Linked DNA regions of Homo sapiens: region 2 is linked to region 1. Evidence: promoter capture Hi-C in human tissues and cell types (Jung and others, 2019). All regions are on one chromosome and are shown on one strand. The core of a region is centred on a gene start or on the middle of the fragment in contact, and the rest is flanking DNA. Distances in the headings are between cores, read along the strand shown.

The links. Contacts are between HindIII fragments. The study calls those that stand out against the background at their distance.
Region 2: a contact is called between a fragment that was not itself captured here and the fragment with the promoter of VWA5B2 in region 1, in 2 of the 25 tissues and cell types used here (H1 embryonic stem cells and IMR-90 fibroblasts).

What each region holds. Positions count from the first base shown.
Region 1 is chr3:184,225,800-184,231,529 of GRCh38, reverse strand. It overlaps VWA5B2 (von Willebrand factor A domain containing 5B2), which reads right to left and starts at 1,945. Exons shown (of 20, transcript NM_001390846.1): 1 at 1,817-1,945; 2 at 863-1,150; 3 at 613-783. The coding sequence starts at 1,001. RefSeq lists a silencer at 1,838-2,177. The HindIII fragment of the contact is 9,993 bases long and covers 1-3,754 here.
Region 2 is chr3:184,117,164-184,122,118 of GRCh38, reverse strand. It overlaps the pseudogene HSP90AA5P. Among named protein-coding and RNA genes, the nearest start is that of HTR3E-AS1, 14 kb to the right of the region's middle. The HindIII fragment of the contact is 9,466 bases long and covers 1-4,955 here.

The DNA.
Region 1 (5,730 bases), core at 696-3,195:
TATTTGTGGGAGAGTCAGGGAGGGTTTCCCTAGGAATGACGTTTAGTGGATCTTAAAGGACAAGTAGGAATTTGCTCAATAGAAGATGGAAAGACAGAGCAGAGAGTTGGGAAAGGACCTGTCAGTCAGTGTGGCCAGCGGCAGCGGTACCTGGTGTATGGGGTCGCTGGGAGAGGGATGGAATGGGGTGAGAGCGAGGGCCTTGGCTGCTAGGCACAGGAGTCTACACTTGATTCACTGGCCCACGCGGGGCCGGATTGAGGTGTGCAGCCTAAAATAGTAAGGGGCCGGAGGGGACCACCAGGGGAGAAGGCTCCCTTTGCAGCCCCCTAGAGAGACCGGTCTCCTGGGCTGTAAGGGTTGCTGGCGCCCCCGCAAGCCCTGTGCTGCCTGCTGTGTCTGTCTCCCAGGCTGTGAACCTCCGGGCCATGTTCTCCCAGCACCTGGCGCAGGTCAGGTGCCCAGCCCACGACTGCTAAATACCAGGATGAGCCAATGAATGCACAAGGCAGTGCCCGGAGGAAGGCGGGGGACGGGCGGAGGCCGAGCGGATGCGGGAGCCTGAGCTGCGCCCGGCTTTCAGGAGCGCGGGTGCGGGCGCGCGGAACTCACCCTGCGCGCAGCGGCGGGGCGTCGGGGTCCCCAGCCCCGGGCCCAGAGCGCGGCAGCAGGCGGCCTGCGAGCGGCGCCGGCTCTGCAGCTGGAAGGAGACGCGCCGTCCGGCGGCCTCGGCCTCGAAGCCGGACACCACCTCGGCCTCGGCCAGCGGGTACACGAACACGCCTGGGGAGGGCGGCGGGAGGCGGCGTCGGACCCTGCCCGGCGCACCCCCCGCCGCGCCCGCGCCCCACCCGGGCCTCACCGTCCACCGGCTGCGGCTGCGGGTTGCGGTAGGTGAGCCGGGCCCGCACGCTGAGGCAGGGGCCGTTGGCGCAGGCCCGGACCCAGGAGTCCGTGAGCGGCAGCGGCGTCCAGCTGGAGGGGCAGTACAGGCCGGGCATGGCGCCGGGAGGCCGGCCCTGCGGGAACGGGCCGGGGAAGCTGGGCGCAGGGTGACGGGACGCCCACCCCGCGCTCCAGAGGCCAGCGCGAGAGTCTCACTCCAGCACCCGGACGGGGCCTGCCGGGGCGCGAGGCCGAGCGGGAGCTCCTGAGGGCGACAGGTGGCGGGGGAGATAAGGGGGCGGCAGGCGTGGTGGCGAGGAGGGCATCCTCACGCGTTACCTGGGCAGCCGGGCCGCGGAGGGTTAATGATTAACGCGCGCTTCGGCGCCCAGCAGTCCCGCCGCGGCTCCCCCGGGGGTGGGGGCGGTCACAGCTGTTCCACCGCCCACTCCCAACCTCGCAGCCACCCCCGTACCTGCCGGCCCCCCGGGGCCCCCCGCGGCCGCCAGCTGTCGGAAGCGGCGCGGGTGGAGATGGAAGATGCTCCGGGAAGGCGGAGGTTTAAAGGGCCCGAATCCCCCCGGAGGCCCCCGGCCCTGCGAGGGATCGCGGGGGCAGGGTGGATGGGGCGCCGAAAGGGCCTTGGTCTTTCTCTCCCTGGTGCCTCATCCGACGGGGGTGCTGGCCGGAGTGGAGGGGTTAAGGGTGGGAAGAACGAGCTGGGAAAGCGAAAAGAGGGGGTCTTTGGGAGGCAAGCCCGGGAGAGGTGTCGGGCCAGGGAGAGTCCGTGGGAGCCGCCAGGTTACCGCTCCCTACCCCGGCAGAGCTGATGTGGGAGGAGGGGGCACCTGCAGTGGCCGCGGCCCGCGCAGGGGATGCCGCGGGCTGGCTCTGGGGATCGCCCCGCTCCCTGTGGCAGTCTCAGCCTCACCGTCGCGCCCTCCGCGGAGTTCTAGGTGCCCACGGGATCCGTGTGGGTGGTGCCGCCTCTGCGCTCCGGGTGGCCCTCGGTCCCGGCACCTGCCGGCCGCCAGTTCGTGACTGTGGCTGCAGCGGCTCTGAGTCCCGGCAGGGGCGCGGGCCCTGCCGGCGGTGGTCCCGCCCCCGTTCCGAGAGGCCGCCCCTCCAGCCTGCCCTGGCCACGCCTGCTGCTGCTGCGGCGGGGCTGGCGCTCCCCCCTCCTTCGGGCGCGGTACCGCCTCCGCGCCAGCCGCGGCAGCCCGAGCCAGACTGGGCACCGCAGTGCAGGGACCGCGTCCCCGCCGCCGCACGGATCCCCGTCACTGCAGGACCGAGGCCTCAGAGACCCCACCCTTTCCATTCTTCAGGAATCAGGCGTCCTGCAAGTGCCACCGACACTGCCGCGACCCCAGCTATCCCATTACCACGACGGCATCCCATTCCCCAGCCCACCCCACCCCCTGCCCTGGGTTGCTTCCCATCGCTGCAGAGACCCTCCCTCCTGACTGCAGCGAACCCCCCAGCCCCCCATCACCGTCACCGCAGGACTCTTCCCCCAAGAAGCTGGCCCCTTTCCTTTGCAAAGTGCTCTTCATCACTGCAGAAAACCTCCCCCATCCCTGCAGGTACTTTTAGTTCATGCAGCCACTTCAGTGACCACTCACTCCAAGCAGGGATTCCTCATCACTGCAGCGACCTCCTCCCACCCCCAAGCAGCCGGCCTTGGCATCGCTGCAGTGCCAACCACTTCTGCTGGGGTGGGAGGGTGTGCACAATAGCGCCCTCAGCCTATAACCCCTTGGTCTCTTCAGCTGTGCGGGCCTTGGGAGTGAAGCCTTCTAGCCTGAAGAGCCTTCTTATGGCTGCAGACCGTCCCCTCATAGCAGTGACCCCCACCCATCACCGCAGCCCTGAAGAGAAAACATCTCTGCTTGTCAGGAGGGCCCCTTGTTATTGGCAGACTTTGCATGTGCTTGACAGTGTTATGCTGTCAAAAAGTAGGAAGGTCCGGAAAACCTCTCCCAGGTCCCCCAAGGAAGAGTCTGAGAGCCCTGGGGAAGTGAGAGGAGATGACCATGTTTGGGGATCATCCATGTAAGCTTTTTGGCAGATGCCATACTGAGATTCTGCAGAGAGAGCTTGAGGAGAGCTGGGGATGGAGGACAGCCAGTAGGAAGTGAGCTTTCGAGTCGGGCCCATGGTTCTCACTCCTCCGCATTAACTCTCTCCTTCTGATTTCAATCACTATCACCAGGGATCATCCCCCCGGGGGATCCCTGCCTCCTTGAGTATCTGAGCCCTCAACCCCAACCATCTCCTTTGCTCACCCTACTTAGCATGGTGGAGAGAGCTTGACCTTTTCCCAGGGAATTTCATGGGTGGAAATGCACAGGAATGATACAGGGAGCACAGACACAGTCACACGTACCCAACACACAGGGAGCTCCAGCTGGGTCCTAGCCCTCTTTCCATACTACCTGGGTCATGGTTCCATTCACCTCTCTCCCCCTTTCTCTACTGAGTCTGTTCTCAGCTTCATCCTGAACGAGGGTCCCTCTTTCAGGCCTAGGGAGAAACAGTGGATGGGCTGATGGTCCCTCCAGGTGATCCAGGGCCTCAGGTAGGACCAGCCCTGGCCCTGAGGGCCTCACAAAGGTCCAGGCAGTGGCCACCTTTCCACAAGCACCTTGTGCTCTGCCCCTTCTACAAATGAACCAAGAGCTACATGTAGCCCTTGGACAAACATGAGGTTGCAAATAGCAGTCATTAGGGAGGTCTCCGACACATGGAAATGGAAAAAGAGGTCCTTCTGTTTGGTCCTGAGGAGAGCTTAGATGTAAGACAGCCTCCCAGGAAGATAGCATCCCTATCAGAGACCAGACACACACACTGGCAGAAGTCAAACTTTGCTGCAAAGCTGGACCAACCCTGAGATCTTGCTAGGAAGGTCTCCTTAGCTGAGGCAAATGGAGGGAGAGACAGGTGAATGGCTCCACAAAAAGCATAGGGCACCCTGCAGGATGAGGGGCAGGGGGTGGGGAGCCAGTGCTGGCTGCCTGGCACCTTGGGTGGGGCAGTAAGAAGGGTCTCTGAGGCCCAGCTGGAAGGCCCTCTGGTGGTGAGGCAGCAGCATGACAGCCAAGGGCAGAAGGGGACAGCACAGGAACCAGATTCCAGATCTGAGGCCGGGCTGAGGGATAGCATGGGGTGGGCTACGTGGTAGTCATAGGAGAATAGATGATATAGATGATATACATATAGATATAGATATATAGATATATTTTTTGAGACAGAGTTTCGCCCTGTCGTCCAGGCTGGAGTGTAGTGGAGCGATCTCGGCTCACTGCATGCAACATCTGCCTCCCAGGTTCAAGTGATTCTCCTGCCTCAGCCTCCTGAGAAGCTGGGATTACAGGCGAGCACCAGCATGCCTGGGTAATTTTTTGGATTTTTAGTAGAGACAGGGTTTCACCATGTTGTCCAGGCTGGTCTTGAACTCCTGAGCTCAGGCAATCTGCCTGCCTCAGCCTCCCAAAGTGCTAGGATTATAGGCATGAGCCACTGCGCCTGGCCCATAGGAGGATATTGAGCTGAAAAGACTTAGCTTCTGCCTAGGAGAGTCTCACACTTTAGTGAAAAGGGCAGACAAATATACAGTTACAGTAGCTTGAGATAAGTGCTGCATTACAAGAGTAATAGTAATGGATATTATAAAAGCTTTTAACTGGCTGGCGGTGGCTCACACCTGTAATGCCAGCACTTCAGGAGCCTAAGGCAGGAGAATCCCTTGAGGCCAGGAGTTTGAGACCAGCCTGGACAACATAGGGAGACCCTATCTCCATAACAATTAAAAATTAAAAAACAAATCTTAACCAAGGGTGGTGGTGATGTGGGGAATAGGGTGAACCTTAGGGAACTGACTTAGAAAATGGCACTCAGCCAGGTCTTCTTGTTGCAAAGCACAACTCAATTATCTCCTGCTTGTGGGCTGCCTGTCGGCCTTTGGAGGGCAGAGGTCTTATTTCCCCAAACTATAGATGATCTACCCTCTCAGATTGGAGCTCCAGAAGAGATATACCTAGAGAAAAAGAGGAATTTTGCCTCTTGCTGTCTAAAGCTTGACTTCCAAAATCCCAGCCCCTGCCTGAAACCCAAATTGGAAGATGGTTTAGTTCATTAATTCATTTGTTCACTCAAGAAATATTTCTTGTTGAAGCCTGCGGTGTGCTAGAGCTGGAACTACAGCAGAAAACAAGACAGTGGTAGCCCCTCCCCTCACGAAAGACGTCAATTAAACAATTAATTTTTAAATTTTGTATTTCAAAATAACTTCAAAACTTCTACAAAAGTTGCAAATAAAGCATTTTTTTCTGAACCATTTCAAATTAAGTTTTACACATCCGACCTCTTTACCCCTAAACACTTCGGTTTGTCTTTTCTTTTCTTTTTTTTTTTTTTTTCAGAGACAGGGTCTCACTCTGTCACCCAGGCTGGAGTGGAGTGGCACAATCATAGCTCACTGCAGTCTTGAACTCTTGAGCTCAAAGGATCCTTCCTCCTTGGCTTCCCAAAGTACTGGGGTTACAGGTGTGAGCCACCATGCCCAGCCAGTTGGTGTGGGGGGGGGTAGTTTTTTTTATTTGTTTGTTTGTTTGTTTGTTTTGAAACACAGTCTCACTGTTTTGCCTAGGCTGGAGTGCAATGGCTCAATCTCAGCTCACTGCAACCTCCGCCTCCCGGGTTCAAGTGATTCTCATGCCTCAACCTCCAGAGTAGCTGGGACTACATGTGCACGCCAGAATGCCTGGCTAATTTTTGTGTTTTTGTTTTTATTTTTATTTTTTGAGATGGAATCTCACTCCGTAGTCCAGGCTAGAGTGCAGT
Region 2 (4,955 bases), core at 2,061-4,560, 110 kb after region 1:
GTTTCTATTTTTTGGGTGTTATAAATAATGCTGCTATGAACATTTGTGAAAAGTTTTGTGTTTGTTTTTTTGAGACAGAGTCTGGCTCTGTAGCCCAGGCTGGAGTGCAGTGGCGTCATCTTGGCTCACTGCACCCTCTGCCTCCCAGGTCCCCGTTCAAGCAATTCTCCTGCCTCAGCCTCCCGAGTAGCTGGGATTACAGGTGTGCGCCACCATGCACAGCTCATTTTTGTATTTTTGATAGAGACGGGGTTTCACCACGTTAGCCAGGCTGGTCTTGAACTCCTGACCTTGTGATCCACCTGCCTCAGCCGCCCAAAGTTCTGGGATTACAGGCGTGAGACACTACGCCTGGCCAAAAAGGTCTTCGTATAAGCATTTGTTTTCATATATTCTGAACATACACTTTGGGGTGGATTTTTTGGTCATATGGTAATTCTATGTCTAACATTCTGAAAAACTGCCAAACTATTTTCTAAAGTGTCTACACCATTTTGATTTCCAACTTGTTATTATCCACACTTGTTATTATCTATCTTTTTTTTTTTTTTTAGACATATCCATCCTTGACTGGGCACGGTGCCTCACGTCTGTAATCCCAGCAGTTTGGGAGGCCGAGGCGGGCGGATCACCTGAGGTCAGGAGTTCGAGACCAGCAAGACCAACATGGAGAAACCCCATCTCTACTAAAAAATGCAAAATTAGCTGGCATGGTGGTGCATCCCTGTAATCCCAGCTACTCGGAAGGCTGAGGCAGGAGAATTACTTGAACCCGGGAGGCGAGGGTTGCGGTGAGCCAAGATCGCGCCATGGCACTCCAGCCTGGGCAACAAGAGTGAAACTCTGTCTGAAAACAAAAGCAAAAACCAAAACCAAAACAACAAAAAACATCCATCCTCAGGAGGGTAAAGTGTATTGCATTTCCCTAATGACTGATGATGTCAAGCACCTTTTCATGTGCTTTTTTGTTTGTTTGTCTGGACAGAGTCTCATTCTGTTGCCCAGGCTGGAGTGCACTGGTGTGATCTCGGCTCACTGCAATCTCCGCCTCCCAGGTTCAAGCAATTCTTCTGTCTCAGCCTCCTGAGTAACTGGGACTACAGGCTCACGCTACCGCACCTGGCTAATTTTTGTATTTTTAGTAGAGACCAGGTTTCACCATATTGATCAGGCTGATCTCGAACTCTTGACCTCAGGTGATCCACCCATCTTGGCCTCCCATAGCGTGGGCCACCCAACCTGGCCTGCTGTTTTTTTTTTCTTTTCTTTTCTTAAATAGGGATGGGGTTTTTTGGCCAGGCTGGTCTCGAATTCCCGACCTCATGTAATTAGCCCACCTCAGCCTCTCAAAGAGCTGGATTACAGGCATGAGCCACTGTACCCGGCCTTCATGTGCTTACTGGCCATTTGTGTATCTTCTTTGGAGAAATGACTATTCAAATTCTTTGCTCTTTTTCGTTGATTATTTGTTTATTTATTGTTCAGGTGTAAGAGCTCTTTATGTATTCAGGGTACATATCCTGTATCAGATATATGACCTTCAAATATTGTCTCCCAGCCTGTGGGTTCTTTTTTCACTTTCTTGATGGTTTATTTAAAGCATGATAGTTTTAAATTTTGATAAAGTCCAATTTCTCCTTCCTTCCTTCCTTCCTTGCTCTTCTTTCCTTCCTTCCTTCCTTCCTTCCTTCCTTCCTTCCTTCCTTCCTTCCTTCCCTCACTCCCTCCCTCCCTCCTTCCTTCTCTCCCTCCCTCCTTCCTTCCTTCCTTTCTTCTTCTTCTTTTTTTGGGATAGAGTTTCCCTCTTGTTGCCCAGGGTAGATTGCAATGGTGTGATCTCAGCTCACCACAACCTCCGCCTCCCGGATTCAAGTGATTCTCCTGCCTCAGCCTTCCAAGTAGCTGGGATTACAGGCATGCGCCACCACGCCCGGCTAATTTTGTATTTTTAGTAGAGACAGGGTTTCTCCATGTTGGTCAGGCTGGCCTCAAACTCCTGACCTCAGGTGATCCGCCTGCCTAGACCTCCCAAAGTGCTTGGATTATAGGCATGAGCTACCGCGCCCAGGCTTATCTATCTTTCTTTTTTATCGTTTGTGCTTATAATAGTCATATATAAGAAATCATAGCCCACCCCAAGATCGTGAAGATTAACTGCTATGTTTTCTTCTAAGAAAACATTTAGCTCCTATGTTTAGGACTGTGATCCATTTTGAGTTGATTTTTGTGTATGGTGTGAGGGGTAGGGGTCCAAAGACATTCTTTTGCATGTGGATATCCAGTTGTCTAAGCACCATTTGCTGAAAAAAACTATTCTTTTTATCATTGAATTATTTTGTTCCCTTTGTAGAAAATAAATTGACCGTAAATGTTAGGGTTTATTTATGAACTCTCCATTCGAATTTCGTTGACCTATATGTCTTTCCTTATGCCAGTATCACACTATCTTGATTACAATATCTTTGTAGTAAGTTTTTTTTTTTAAGATGGAGTCTTGCTCTGTCTCTCAGGCTGAAGTACAGTGCCACGATCTCGGCTCACTGCAACCTCCACCTCCTGGGTTCAAGCGATTCTCCTTCCTCAGCCTCCCGAGTAGCTGGGATTACAGGCACACGCCACCATGTCCAGCTAATTTTTGTATTTTTAGTAGAGATGGGGTTTTGCTACTTTGGCCGGGCTGGTCTCAAACTCCTGACCTCAGGCGATCCCCTCGCCTCGGTCTCCCAAAGTGCTGGGATTACAGGTATGAACCACCGCGCCTGGCCTGCAGTACGTTTTGAAATGAGGAAGTGTGAGTCTACCAACTGTGTTCTGCTCCAGGATTGTTTTGATTATTCTGGGCCTGTTGCATTTCTGCCTTTTTTTTTTTTTTCTTTTAAACTCATCTGTATTTGTTACAACCTTTTTAAGCAGAATGTGACTTGGGTACTACAGTTCCATTCACAAGCCTCGCTCTGGGTTATTTCTGAACAGCTTTACAATATGCCTAGGTAGGCTTATAATTTTGCTCCTGCAAACAATATTTTCCTTTGGAAAACAAGTCCTGTGGAGAGTTCCTTCCATCAAGTTGCTTCAGTTTAACATATTTCCAGAGGACAATTACATGCAGAATTGGCAACTACAGGATGAAAAGTTTAAAAAGTAGATCCTAGAAGATGCAACAAATACTTTTCCTCTAAACATCAAGGTATTTCTCAGAAAACTTCAGTGACAAAGATTTGGCCTACTAAGGAATCTGGCTTGATAGCTTAAACAGTTTAGATCACAAAGTTAATGTTAGGTTACATACATCTTTTTTTTTTCTTTTCTTTCTTTCTTTCTTTCTTTTTTTTTTTTTTTGAGGTGGAGTCTCTCTCTGTTGCCCAGGCTAGAGTACAGTGGCGTGATCTTGGCTCACTGCAACCTCCACTTCCTGGGTTCAAGCAATTCCCCTGCCTCAGCCTCCCGAGTACCTGGGATTACAGGCACCTGCCATAGCACCCAACTAATTTTTGTATTTTTAGTAGAGACGAGGTTTTGTCATGTTGGCCAGGCTGGTCTTGAACTCCTGACCTCAGGTGATCCACCCGCCTCGTCCTCCCAAAGTGCTGGGATTACAGGCGTGAGCCACCGCACCCAGCCTACATACATCTTACAACACACATTACCCCAATCTGTTAAAATAAGCCAATGTGAAACTAGAAAAGCATTGCTAGCTCTGTTTTAGTGCCTGAAGTATCACAAAATCACTTAGAAGTATCACAAAATCACTTAGAAGTAGAAAGAAACCTTACCTTCCCCCTGAAATAGTTATTGTCATGCCATGCAGACTTTTTTTTTTTTTTTTTTGAAGGCAGAGTCTCCCACTTTCTCCCGGGCTGGAGTGCAATGGCGTGATCTCAGCTCACAGCAACCTCCGCCTCCTGGGTTCACATGATTCTCCTGCCTCAGCCTCCTGAGTAGCTGGGATTACAGGTGCACACCACCACACCCGGCTAATATTTTGTTTTTTTTTAGTAGAGATTGGGTTTCGCCATGTTGGCCAGGCTGGTCTCGAACTCCTGACCTCAGGTGATCCACCTGCCTCAGCCTCCCAAAGTGCTGGGATTACAGGTGTGAGCCACCACGCCCGGCCCCCATACAGACTTTTTAAATGTTAACAAAAATAACTAAAATAATCCTGAAAATATATTATCAGAGAGAATGAAGATAGAGTATTGAACACATGTACAAGTCATTCCTCAGCCAGAGCCGCCTACTTCTTCCATGCGTGATGTGTCATCACCTCCTCTGAGGGGCGGCATTTCTTTAGTTATAGCGGCATTGATATCATTAGCAGTAGGATCATATTCATCAACACCCAGACCAAGTTTGATCATCCTATAGATCTTGTTAGTATGTCTCTGAGGGTCTTCCATACTGAAGCCAGGAGATGGGAGTGCAGTTTAGTAAAGCAAGATGACCAGATCCTTCACTGACTTGTTGTTCTTATCAGCCTCTGCCTTTTGCCTTAAGGTTTCAATCATGAATGGTCAGGGTTTATCTCCAGGTGTTTCTTTGCTGCCACGTAGCCCATTGTTGAGTTGTCTTACCGGGCTTGAGCTTTCATGATTCTTTCCATGTTTGCTGTCCAGCCATATGTGCTTGTGACAATACAGCATGGGGATGTCACCAGTTTGACACAACCACCTTTTTGACTTTTTTCTCCAACATGTCTTTCATGATTTTGCAGAGGTTCTCAAACTTTGTTTTTTTCTCTTCCTGTTTCTTTTTTTCTTCTTCATCTTCTGGAAGTTCCAAACCCTCTTTGGCAACTGACACTACAGTCTTACTCTCAAGTTCCTTCAGCTGCTGGACACAGTACTTATCAATCAACTCGATCATATAGATCACTTCTAAGCCATGCTTCTGAAGACATTCCACAAAGGCTGAGTTAGCTACTTGGTCCTTGGTCTCACCTGTAATGTAATAGATAT